Linked DNA regions of Homo sapiens: region 1 is linked to region 2. The links are contacts of gene promoters, found by promoter capture Hi-C in human tissues and cell types (Jung and others, 2019). All regions are on one chromosome and are shown on one strand. The core of a region is centred on a gene start or on the middle of the fragment in contact, and the rest is flanking DNA. Distances in the headings are between cores, read along the strand shown.

Region 1 (4,799 bases), core at 1,381-3,880, 560 kb after region 2:
AAAAAAAAAAAAAAAATACAAAAATTAGCTGGGTGTGGTGACGGGCACCTATAGGGTGGTGGCAAGCACCTATAATCCCAGCTACTCGGGAGGCTGAAGCAGGAAAATCGCTTGAACCCAGGAGTGGGACGCTGCAGTGAGCCAAGATCAAGCCACTGCACTCCAGCTTGGGCAACAGAGCAGGACTCTGTCTAAAAAATAAATAAATAAAAATAAAAAATTGTAAGGCCAGGCGCAGTGGCTCACGCCTGTAATCCCAGCACTTTGGGAGGCCAAGGTGGGTGGATGACAAGGTCAGGAGTTTGAGGCCAGCCTGACCAACATGAAGAAACCCCATCTCTACTAAAAATACAAAATTAGCCCGGTGTGGTGGCGCACAACTGTAGTCCCAGCTACTTGGGAGGCTAAGGCAGGAGAATAGCTTGAACAGGAGGTGGAGGTTGTGGTGAGCCAAGATCACGCCATTGCACTCCAGCCTGGGCAACAAGAGCAAAATTCCATCTCAAAAAAAAAAAAAAAAAAATAGAGATGAGGTCTTGTTATGTTGCTCAGACGAGTCTCTAACTCCTGGGTTCAAGTGATCCTCCTGCCTCAGCCTCTGGAGTACCTGGGATTACAGGCGTGAGCCACTGCACCTGATGAATACCACTCCTAATACTTTTTTTTTTCTTTTTTGAGACAGAGTCTCACTCTGTCACCCAGGCTGGAGTGCAGTGGCACGATCTCGGCTCACTGCAAGCTCCGCCTCCCGGGTTCACGCCATTCTCCTGCCTCAGCCTCGCGAGTAGCTGGGACTACAGGCGCCCGCCACCATGCCCAGCTATTTTTTTTTTTTTTTTTTTTTTGGATTTTTAATAGAGACAGGGTTTCACCGTGTTAGCCAGGATGGTCTCGATCTCCTGACCACGTGATCCACCTGCCTTGTTCTCCCAAAGTACTGTGATTACAGGTGTGAGCCACCATGCCCAGCCTACTCCTAACACTTTCATATCACCCTGATATATATTATCTCATGCCATCCACACACAAATCCTATGAAACAAGTCAGATACGTATTTCCTTTCTGTAGGATACAGACACCAATAGGTAAAATGACATTATCAATACTTTTTTTTTTTTTTGAGACGGAGTCTTGCTCTGTCACCAGGCTAGAGATCTCCGCTCACTGCAATCTCCGCCTCCTGGGTTCAAGCGATTCTCTTGTCTCAGCCTCCTGAATAGCTGGGATTACAGGCGGGCGCCACCATGCCCGGCTAATTTTTGTTTTTGTTTTTGTTTTTTCAGTAGAGATGAGGTTCCACTATGTTGGCCAGAGTGGTCTCGAACTCCTGACCTCAGGTGATCCGCCTACATGGGCCTCCTAAAGTACTGGGATTACAGGCGTCAGCCACGGCGCCCAACCTTTTTTTTTTTTTTTTTTTTTGAGATGGAGTCTCGCTCTGTCACCCAGGCTGGAGTGCAATGGCACGACCCTGGCTCACTGCAACCTCCGCCTCCCGGGTTCAAGTGCTTCTCCTGCCTCTGCCTCCCGAGTGGCTGAAATTACAGGTGCCCGCCACCATGCCCAACTTTTTTTTTTTTTTTTTTAAGACAGAGTCCAGCTCTGTCCCCCAAGTTGGAGTGCAGTTGTGCGATCTCGGCTCATTGTAACCTCCACCTCCTGGTTTCAAGCAATTCTCTTGCCTCAGTCACTGGGATTACAGGCGTGCGCCACCACGCCCAGCTAATTTTTGTATTTTTAGTAGAGACAGGGTTTCACCATGTTGGCCAGGCTGGTCTCGAACTCCTGACCTCAAGTGATCCGCCCGCCTCGGCCTCCCAAAGTGCTGGGATTACAGGCGTGAGCCACCGCGCCCAGCCGACATTATCAATAAGGTTTGTTGATAAATCAAAACCATGTAAACAGTATGTTTTCACATGTATTATAAACGTTAAGGGAACCAGGAAAAATTAACAGTTGATCTGAGGTCCCGGAATTATGGATAATATTTAAATTCCCCCGCGCCGGTTGCACTTAAATGATTTTACCTCTACACATACCGAAATTTGAGAAACAAATGATAGCTCATAAAATGTTTTCCAAACCCTCCGTAGTGTTACTTCTCTAATAATATAACTTTAATTATAAATGCTTTGTTTCATTTTTTTTTTTCTACCAGTAAACAGAAAATCTAAACTATTAACTGGACAATACCGCCCTGAGGTTGACGGTGGGTTTTGACAACACAATCCACGCAGCTAGAAGTGAGTAGAATTAGTAAAGCTATCCATGCCTTACCATGTGCCAGAAACTGCTCTAAGTGTTTCACTGACGGCTCACAACAATCCTGAGAGAGGTACTATTATTATTTCAATTATAGAGACGAAGAAACTGACGTTCCAAGGCTAATTTACCCGAGGTCACACAGGTAGTGAGTGGCAAAATTCTTCCGCCTTGGCGTATACCTCCCGCACTCACGGCCTGGCCTCCGGAGGCTAGACGGTTCGCCGCGCTGGGGAGGCCCCCTCAACCCTCAAGTGCCAGGGCTCTGTCGCCTCCCCACACCCGGGACACACCAACCGCCGGCCTGCCGCCGCTTACCTCCCCGAGCCTATAGTGTACCTTCCGCCCAGAAGCCACTTTACCCGTATAGGTCCATCTGCTTTTCCCTTCCGATGCCAAACAAGGCGTCAGAACACCAAAGTTCCGGCCGAGTACAGAAGCCCAGGAAGGACAGCAAGGACCCCGTAGCCCAGCCAACTGAGGTTTTTGGAGGTTTTTGGTCCACTTGGTCGCCAGTTGTAAGGAAGCAGTGAGAATTCAGATAAGTTTTTCGCCTCTCCTTCCTGTATCCTTTCAGGCGGCAAACTCCATCCCTGCGTCTTTTTTTTTTTTTTTTTTTTTGAGACGGATTCTCGCTCTGTCGCCCAGGCTGGAGTGCAGTGGCGCGATCTCGGCTCACTACAACCTCTGCCTCCCAGATTCAAGCGATTCTCCTGCCTCAGCCTCCCGAGTAGCTGGGATTACAGGTGCGCGCCATCATGCCCGACTAATTTTTGTATTTTTAGTAGAGACGGGGTTTCACCATGTTAGCCGGGATGATCTCGATCTCCTGACCTCGTGATCCACCCGCCTCGGCCTCCCAAAGTGCTGAGATTACAGGCGCGAGCCACCAAGCCCGGCCCCCTGCGTCTTTCAAATAGAACCCAGTTATTGCTAACGCGCCTGTATCCCTTCCTTCCTTATCTGTCGCCTCGGTCCCCACAAGAACTGCCTGAGGCCTCAAAAGGCCGATTCTGCTGGAATTGCCCCCATGAATTCTTGAGGACCACCACGCACCTGGACAGCAGCCCCTCCTACCAGCCCTTCCCGAGTCTCGCCCCACACGGTCGCCAGTTGCTCAGGGCATCTGTTTGTACCTTGTGCACACCTCTCTTAAAGCACTTTTTTTTTTTGAGACGGAGTCTCACTCTGTTGCCCAGGCTGTAGTGCAGTGGCGCGATCTGCAACCTCCGACTCCTGGGTTGGAGCAATTCTCCTGCCTCAGCCTCCCAAGTAGCTGGGATTACAGGTGTGTGCCACCACACCCGGATAATTTTTGTATTTTTAGTAGAGATGGGGTTTCGCCATGTTGGCCAGGCTGGTCTCGAAATCCTGACCTCATGATCCACCCACCTCGGCCTCCCAAAGTGCTGGTATTACAGGCGTGAGCCACCATGCCCGGCCAAAGCACTTAAACATTGTTTGTTTTTGTTTTTTTTTCTTACTGCCAGGGAAGACAGAATCAACATTGTATCTTTCACTCACTTCTCACTTCCTTTGCCACGCTGTGAGCTTTCTTGGGTCCAGACTGCGCTGTTTTTCCTTTCCCCAGAATGTACCATAGCGGCGGGAATTTAGTGCTTAGTGTGAATTTGAGAGCATATAGTTCCGTAACACCTTTGTTCTCTAAGGTTCCGAAGGAGCTCACTAAATACACTAGCCCTTTCCATGTTTTCTCCTTCACTAGTTTCCGCGCCGCCTCCTCTTCCTCAAATTCGGCTTGGCTTCTCTAGACTCTACACTTGCCCCCTCAAACCTTACCTTTCTGCCCCCATCACTGACTCTTCTATTCTCTTCCCACAACCTTTAATGCGGGCTGTCTCTCCATGGCCCATCCTGCCTCTACCTCTTTTCTAGTTTCAAATATAAGTTATCGGCCGGGCGCGGTGGTTCACGCCTGTAATCCCAGCACTTTGGGAGGCCGAGGCGGGCGGATCACAAGGTCAGGAGATCGAGACCATCCTGGCTAACACGGTGAAACCCCGTCTCTACTAAAAATACAAAAAAATTGGCCGGGCGTGCTGGCGGGCGCCTGTAGTCCCAGCTACTCAGGAGACTGAGGCAGGAGAATGGCGTGAACCCGGGAGACGGAGCTTGCAGTGAGCCGAGATCGCACCACTGCACTCCAGCCTGGGCCACAGAGCCAGACTCCGTCTCAGAAAAAGAAAAAATCGAAATGTCTTTTTGTTGTTGTTTTTTAGGAAATATCCTTGAGCAATAAAGAAAACTAAATGTCTAAAACTAAATGTGTCATTTTTCCTCCTACTAATTCCTCCTGTCTCCCTATTTCTGTAAATGGCCACATCCTTCTAGGATGGAAATGCTTGACTGTCCTTGGCTCCTCTCCTTAAAATCTTCTCTTACTGATTTTAAATCCTGTTGCATTCTCTTGCTGTTTTTGATCTTTGATCTTTTCACACCTTCTTTCCAAGCCCACTGACACGTTTCTTGTTTTTTTGGTTTTTAAAATATAGTAGCCATCCTAATGAGTGTGAAG
Region 2 (5,024 bases), core at 1,064-3,563:
CTTTGTCTGCATTAACTCAATTAATCCTCATAAAAAACCTTATGAAGCCCCACTTCCCATTCAAGGAGACTAAGGCAGAGAGATCAAATAACTTGCACAAGGCCACACGAATAGTAAGTGGCAGATGCAAGAGCTAAATCCAGTAGTCTGAGTCTGAAGCTCACAAGTTCAACTTCTCTACAACCTGTCACCACTCTTCGTTCACTACCTGACCTTGATGGAGTCAGTGAACCTTTCTGCAAAGTGGAAGCAATTTTTAGAGTTGTCCTGAGCATTAGCAATCCTATGTCAAGTGCCTGGAGGGAACACAGTGGGCATCTCAACAAATGGTGGGTGCTCACCACTTGAAAGTGAGTTATGGGTTTAAGCAAGTTGAATCTGAGGTGAGGGCAGAACTTCCAGATGAAGTCAGAATTGCAAAGGCCATAAAGCCCAGGGTTTAAGCACTGAAGCCATGGAATTGGCCTGCCTGGGCTCCAATCCCTACTCTGCCGCTTCAATGCTGAATGACCTGACAAGTCAGTTTACCTGTCTGAGCCTGTTTGCTCATTTGTAAAATGGGGCTAAAAATACTACCTCCCTAGGTTTGTTTTGAGTATAGGGTAATATGTGGGCAGTGCTTAGGAACAGAGTTTGGGCATTGTCAGTGCTGAATTCATGTTGGTTTTTATAATGGTGTGTATAATGGATGTAATGATAAATTTATGGTGATGTAATATTACCATAAGGTAATATTTTCCTGTATTAAGATTCTTGAGGTCAGGCACAGTGGCTCACGCCTATAATCCTAGCACTTTGGGAGGCCGAGGTGGGTGGATCACCTGAGGTCAGGAGTTCAAGACCAGCCTGGCCAAAAAGGTGAAACCTCGTTTCTACTAAAAATACAAAAATTAGCTCGGCGTGGTGGTGCCCACCTGTAAGCCCAGCTACTTGGGAGGCTGAGGCAGAATTTCCTGAATCTGGAAGGCAGAGGTTGCAGTGAGCCGAGATCGTGCCATTGCACTCCAGCCTGGGTGACAGAGCAAGACTCCGTCTCAAAAAAAAAAAAAAAAAAATAAATAAATAAATAAATAAAGATTCTTGAATGTGTTAGCCATAAGGGGAAATCAAATCACAACAAAACCCTTTCTTCCCAGTGACTGCACAATCATTTTCTTCATTCCCAGCATACCACCATTGTTGTATATCCACCAGTGTGCCAGGGTCTGTGGATAAACCCTAAACATCCAGAGAAGGGGAGACAGGCCCCAGATTCCCACCCCAACACGCATCATGTGAGCAGCTGGAGGATGTTGCAGTTCAGCAAAATCCAAGGGTTGGCCACAGGATCTGCTAGGCAAAGCTGCTCTGGATGAGAAACTGGGAAGAATGTTCCCATTGGTTTGGGGGTTGTTAAGCCATCAGGAAAAGGTTTGGAATCTGTATTTTAAGAGAGCATGCTATGTGATTCCTTCCTCCAGCCCTGCCTTCATCTGTCTTTCACCTGTTCAGACCCTTGCCGTAGAGAATGGTCTCTTAAGAGTTTTTTACTCAGGAGGAGCAATGAGCTTGGCTTCAAGGAGTCCACTGTTTCGTGAAGGGCATTAACTCAGCTACTTGGTGAACTGGAACCTCCAGGCTTCCAAGGATGACATTTCCCTGGAAGAAAGTAGCCAGCAGCGTCCCCTTTGTGAAAGAGAGGAAGCCTGGGCTCCAGGGAAGGGGGCAACAGTCCAATGAGCCATAGCAGGGAATGGACCGAACTGTACATACAAGATGAGGAGGGGCCTCGAACAACAGGGAAGCCCCGTGGAGCACGCAGGGGAGCCTGGACGCGGGGAATCGCCTCCGTTTCTCACCCTGACAGCAGGGAGGGCTTCCCGGAGCTGACAGTGAGGCAGACATCCCGGATCCCTGTTATCACAGGTGCAGCCACGCAACTTTTGGGTTACCTTCCCGCCACGAAATGGAAATGATTTCCTGAGGGCCGGAAAGATCATTTGCATCGGGCCTCAGGTCTGGGGCTGGGAAAGCAGGCCCCGGCCGGAAAGGAAGACTGGAGGCCGCCGCCCCAGAGGCCGGACCCTCGCGTCCCGGCCGCATCCCCTCCCGGCTGGGTATGCGCTTCGGGCGCGGGGCTCCCTCGCGAGGCTGGACTGGGTGGAGCCCGAGAGCCCCTCCGGGGAGCTGGCTGCCGGGGAGGCACCGGGGCTGCGGGGCCGCGGGGCGGGCCGGGCCTGGAGCTCCGCGCTAGAGGCGGCCGCAGCGCACCGGGCGTGGGCGGGGCCGGCAGCGCAAGGGTGAATGTCGGCCCCGCCCCGACGGCGCTGACTCAGTTTCACCAGAAACCAGGGGGAGAAGGCGGCCGAGCCCCAGCTCTCCGAGCACCGGGTCGGAAGCCGCGACCCGAGCCGCGCAGGAAGCTGGGACCGGAACCTCGGCGGACCCGGCCCCACCCAACTCACCTGCGCAGGTAACCCGGGCCCCCGCGCGCAAGGCCGAGGCGCAGGCGGAGCGGGCTGGAGCATGTCCGGCCCTTTGTTCTGCGCTCGTGCGTGTGTCCGGGTACTTGAGCTCCCTAGCGGTCCGCCTGTCCGTCTGTCTGGCTGCCGGGTCCCTGGAGGGCGCGTGGGAGGGCCGGGCCCGTGCGCCCTCTTCGATCCTGGGGTGCTCCGGTCCCTCCTCCCCGCCACTTCCTCCCGGCCGGCCCGCCTCCTCCAAAGTCTCCCGGGCTGATCAGGTGTGTCTCCTCCTCTGTCCCCTCCCTTCTTCTCAGGTCACCAGCACCCTCGGAACCCAGAGGCCCGCGCTCTGAAGGTGACCCCCCTGGGGAGGAAGGCGATGGCCCCTGCGAGGACGATGGCCCGCGCCCGCCTCGCCCCGGCCGGCATCCCTGCCGTCGCCTTGTGGCTTCTGTGCACGCTCGGCCTCCAGGGCACCCAGGCCGGGCCACCGCCCGCGCCCCCTGGGCTGCCCGCGGGAGCCGACTGCCTGAACAGCTTTACCGCCGGGGTGCCTGGCTTCGTGCTGGACACCAACGCCTCGGTCAGCAACGGAGCTACCTTCCTGGAGTCCCCCACCGTGCGCCGGGGCTGGGACTGCGTGCGCGCCTGCTGCACCACCCAGAACTGCAACTTGGCGCTAGTGGAGCTGCAGCCCGACCGCGGGGAGGACGCCATCGCCGCCTGCTTCCTCATCAACTGCCTCTACGAGCAGAACTTCGTGTGCAAGTTCGCGCCCAGGGAGGGCTTCATCAACTACCTCACGAGGGAAGTGTACCGCTCCTACCGCCAGCTGCGGACCCAGGGCTTTGGAGGTGAGGAGGGTGCCAAGATGGATGGGTTTGGAGAGACTCAAAAAAGGGACTGGTTATGGGGTCCTAGGGGAGACGAACATCAGAGAGGAGTTAAGGAGAGTTCACTTTTTTTTTTCTTTTTCTTTCTTTTTTTTTGCGACGGAGTCTCGCTCTTGTCGCCCAGGCTGGAGTGCAATGGCGCAATCTCTGGTTGCTCACTGCAACCTCCGTCTTCCACGTTCAAGTGATTCTTCTGTCTCAGCCTCCGGAGTAGCTGGAACTACAGGCACCCGCTACCAGACCCGGCTAATTTTTTTTTTTTTTTTTTTTTTTTTTTTTTTGGTACAGACGGGGTTTCACTATGTTGGCCAGGCTGGTCTTGAACTTCTGAACTCAGGTGATCCACCCACCTTGGCCTCCCAAAGTGCTGGGATTATTTCTACCTGAAGCCCTCCTTAGAAGTAGGCAGTACAGCCGAATCAAGCCTGGTGATCAATGGGGTGACAGATGTCACAGCCAGATCGCCTTCACATCGGTAGTAGGCAGTACAAACAGTAAACAAATGAAAGGGGACATGAGTAGGGAGGGCAGGGCCCAGGCTCTGGCTCCTGAACTCAGGATGTTCAGAGGTGATGGGCTGGTGCTCACAGGGAGGCCTTTGGCTCTGGGCTGTGTGTACTGGAGGGGAGAGGAAGTCCCCAGGACTCCTGACCTCTGGCACTGATAGGCTGATTGAAGGAGTGAGCTGTCTGGATGGTCTGGTGACTAGAAAGGCACCTTGGCCAAGCACTGGTCTGGGCACACCGATGCCCTGTCAGGTGAGCCTGGCCATAGTCTCCTCCACTGGCTGGACTTGGGACTGCTTAGCATCTCTCTACCCCCTAGGAATGCATTGGCCTTTTGGTGGTCCAGGAAGACTGCCAGATCCGAGACTAGAAAACAAGCCCAGTCTGCGGTTGATCCAAAGGGAGAGAAGTGATGTTGTAGGCACAGAAGCCTAGAGGCTCTGGGGTGGGGGATGAGGAGGGTTGTGGGGTGAGTCAGCCTGTTGGTATGTATACCTAGTAGGGAAGGGATGTCAGCTGTCCAGGCAGGTGTGTGTGCATGCGCATGAGCCAGACAGGGCTCTCCCTGCTTAGAATCTGGTAGCCAAACCTTGTTTACTTCCATAGATAAAGGCAAAGCGGAGGCCAGGGCTCCTCCTCTTTCTTCCCCGGACTGAACTGTCTGCTGGGATCAGGGCCAGTCCAGAGCCTTGGTTCCCCCTTTCTCTCTACCTGCTGTTCTGGCCAGGTGGGGCTCCAGGGCAGGGGTAGGTCACCTCTCATAACCTCTGTGAGCACTTTACAGCTTACTGATTGCTGTGCCACACATCCTCTCACTCAGGCCTCATCACAACAACTTCCAAAAAGGGTGCTACTAGCAGTCATCCCACTTTTTAGATTAGGAAACTAAGACTCCCATGTTAAAGAATTTGCCCAGGGTAACACTGCCCATAAATGGTAGGCCTGAGATTCACCCCAGGGGAGACCTCCAAAAAAAGTCCTGTGCTGTTTTTCACACAAGACCATCTCTCTGGTAAAAACCTAGCATTCTGACCCAAAATAGCCCAGTGGATAACAGAACCGGGGATTGGGGAGTTTGGGGGCCAGAACTGGGCTGGGGCCACATCTGGGGGTGGTCTCCGTTCTGGAAAGTGGAGAAAGGGCTTTCCTCCGCAGACTTTTCCTGGGCTAGTCTCTCTGCCAGG

The links. The method cuts DNA at HindIII sites, captures the fragments that hold promoters and counts their contacts. A contact is called where the count stands out against the background at its distance.
Region 1: the fragment with the promoter of NDUFAF1 here is called in contact with the fragment with the promoter of SPINT1 in region 2 in 1 of the 25 tissues and cell types used here (lymphoblastoid cells).

What each region holds. Positions count from the first base shown.
Region 1 is chr15:41,399,866-41,404,664 of GRCh38, forward strand. NDUFAF1 (NADH:ubiquinone oxidoreductase complex assembly factor 1) reads right to left here and starts at 2,631. Exons shown (of 5, transcript NM_016013.4): 1 at 2,279-2,631. The HindIII fragment of the contact is 27,298 bases long and covers 1-4,799 here.
Region 2 is chr15:40,841,735-40,846,758 of GRCh38, forward strand. It overlaps SPINT1 (serine peptidase inhibitor, Kunitz type 1), which reads left to right and starts at 2,314. Exons shown (of 11, transcript NM_003710.4): 1 at 2,314-2,452; 2 at 2,756-3,295. The coding sequence starts at 2,821. It overlaps SPINT1-AS1 (SPINT1 antisense RNA 1), which reads right to left and starts at 2,790. Exons shown (of 2, transcript NR_146468.1): 1 at 2,445-2,790. RefSeq lists silencers at 1,752-1,934, 2,096-2,325, 2,406-2,465, 2,756-2,995 and an enhancer at 1,887-2,458. The HindIII fragment of the contact is 27,771 bases long and covers 1-5,024 here.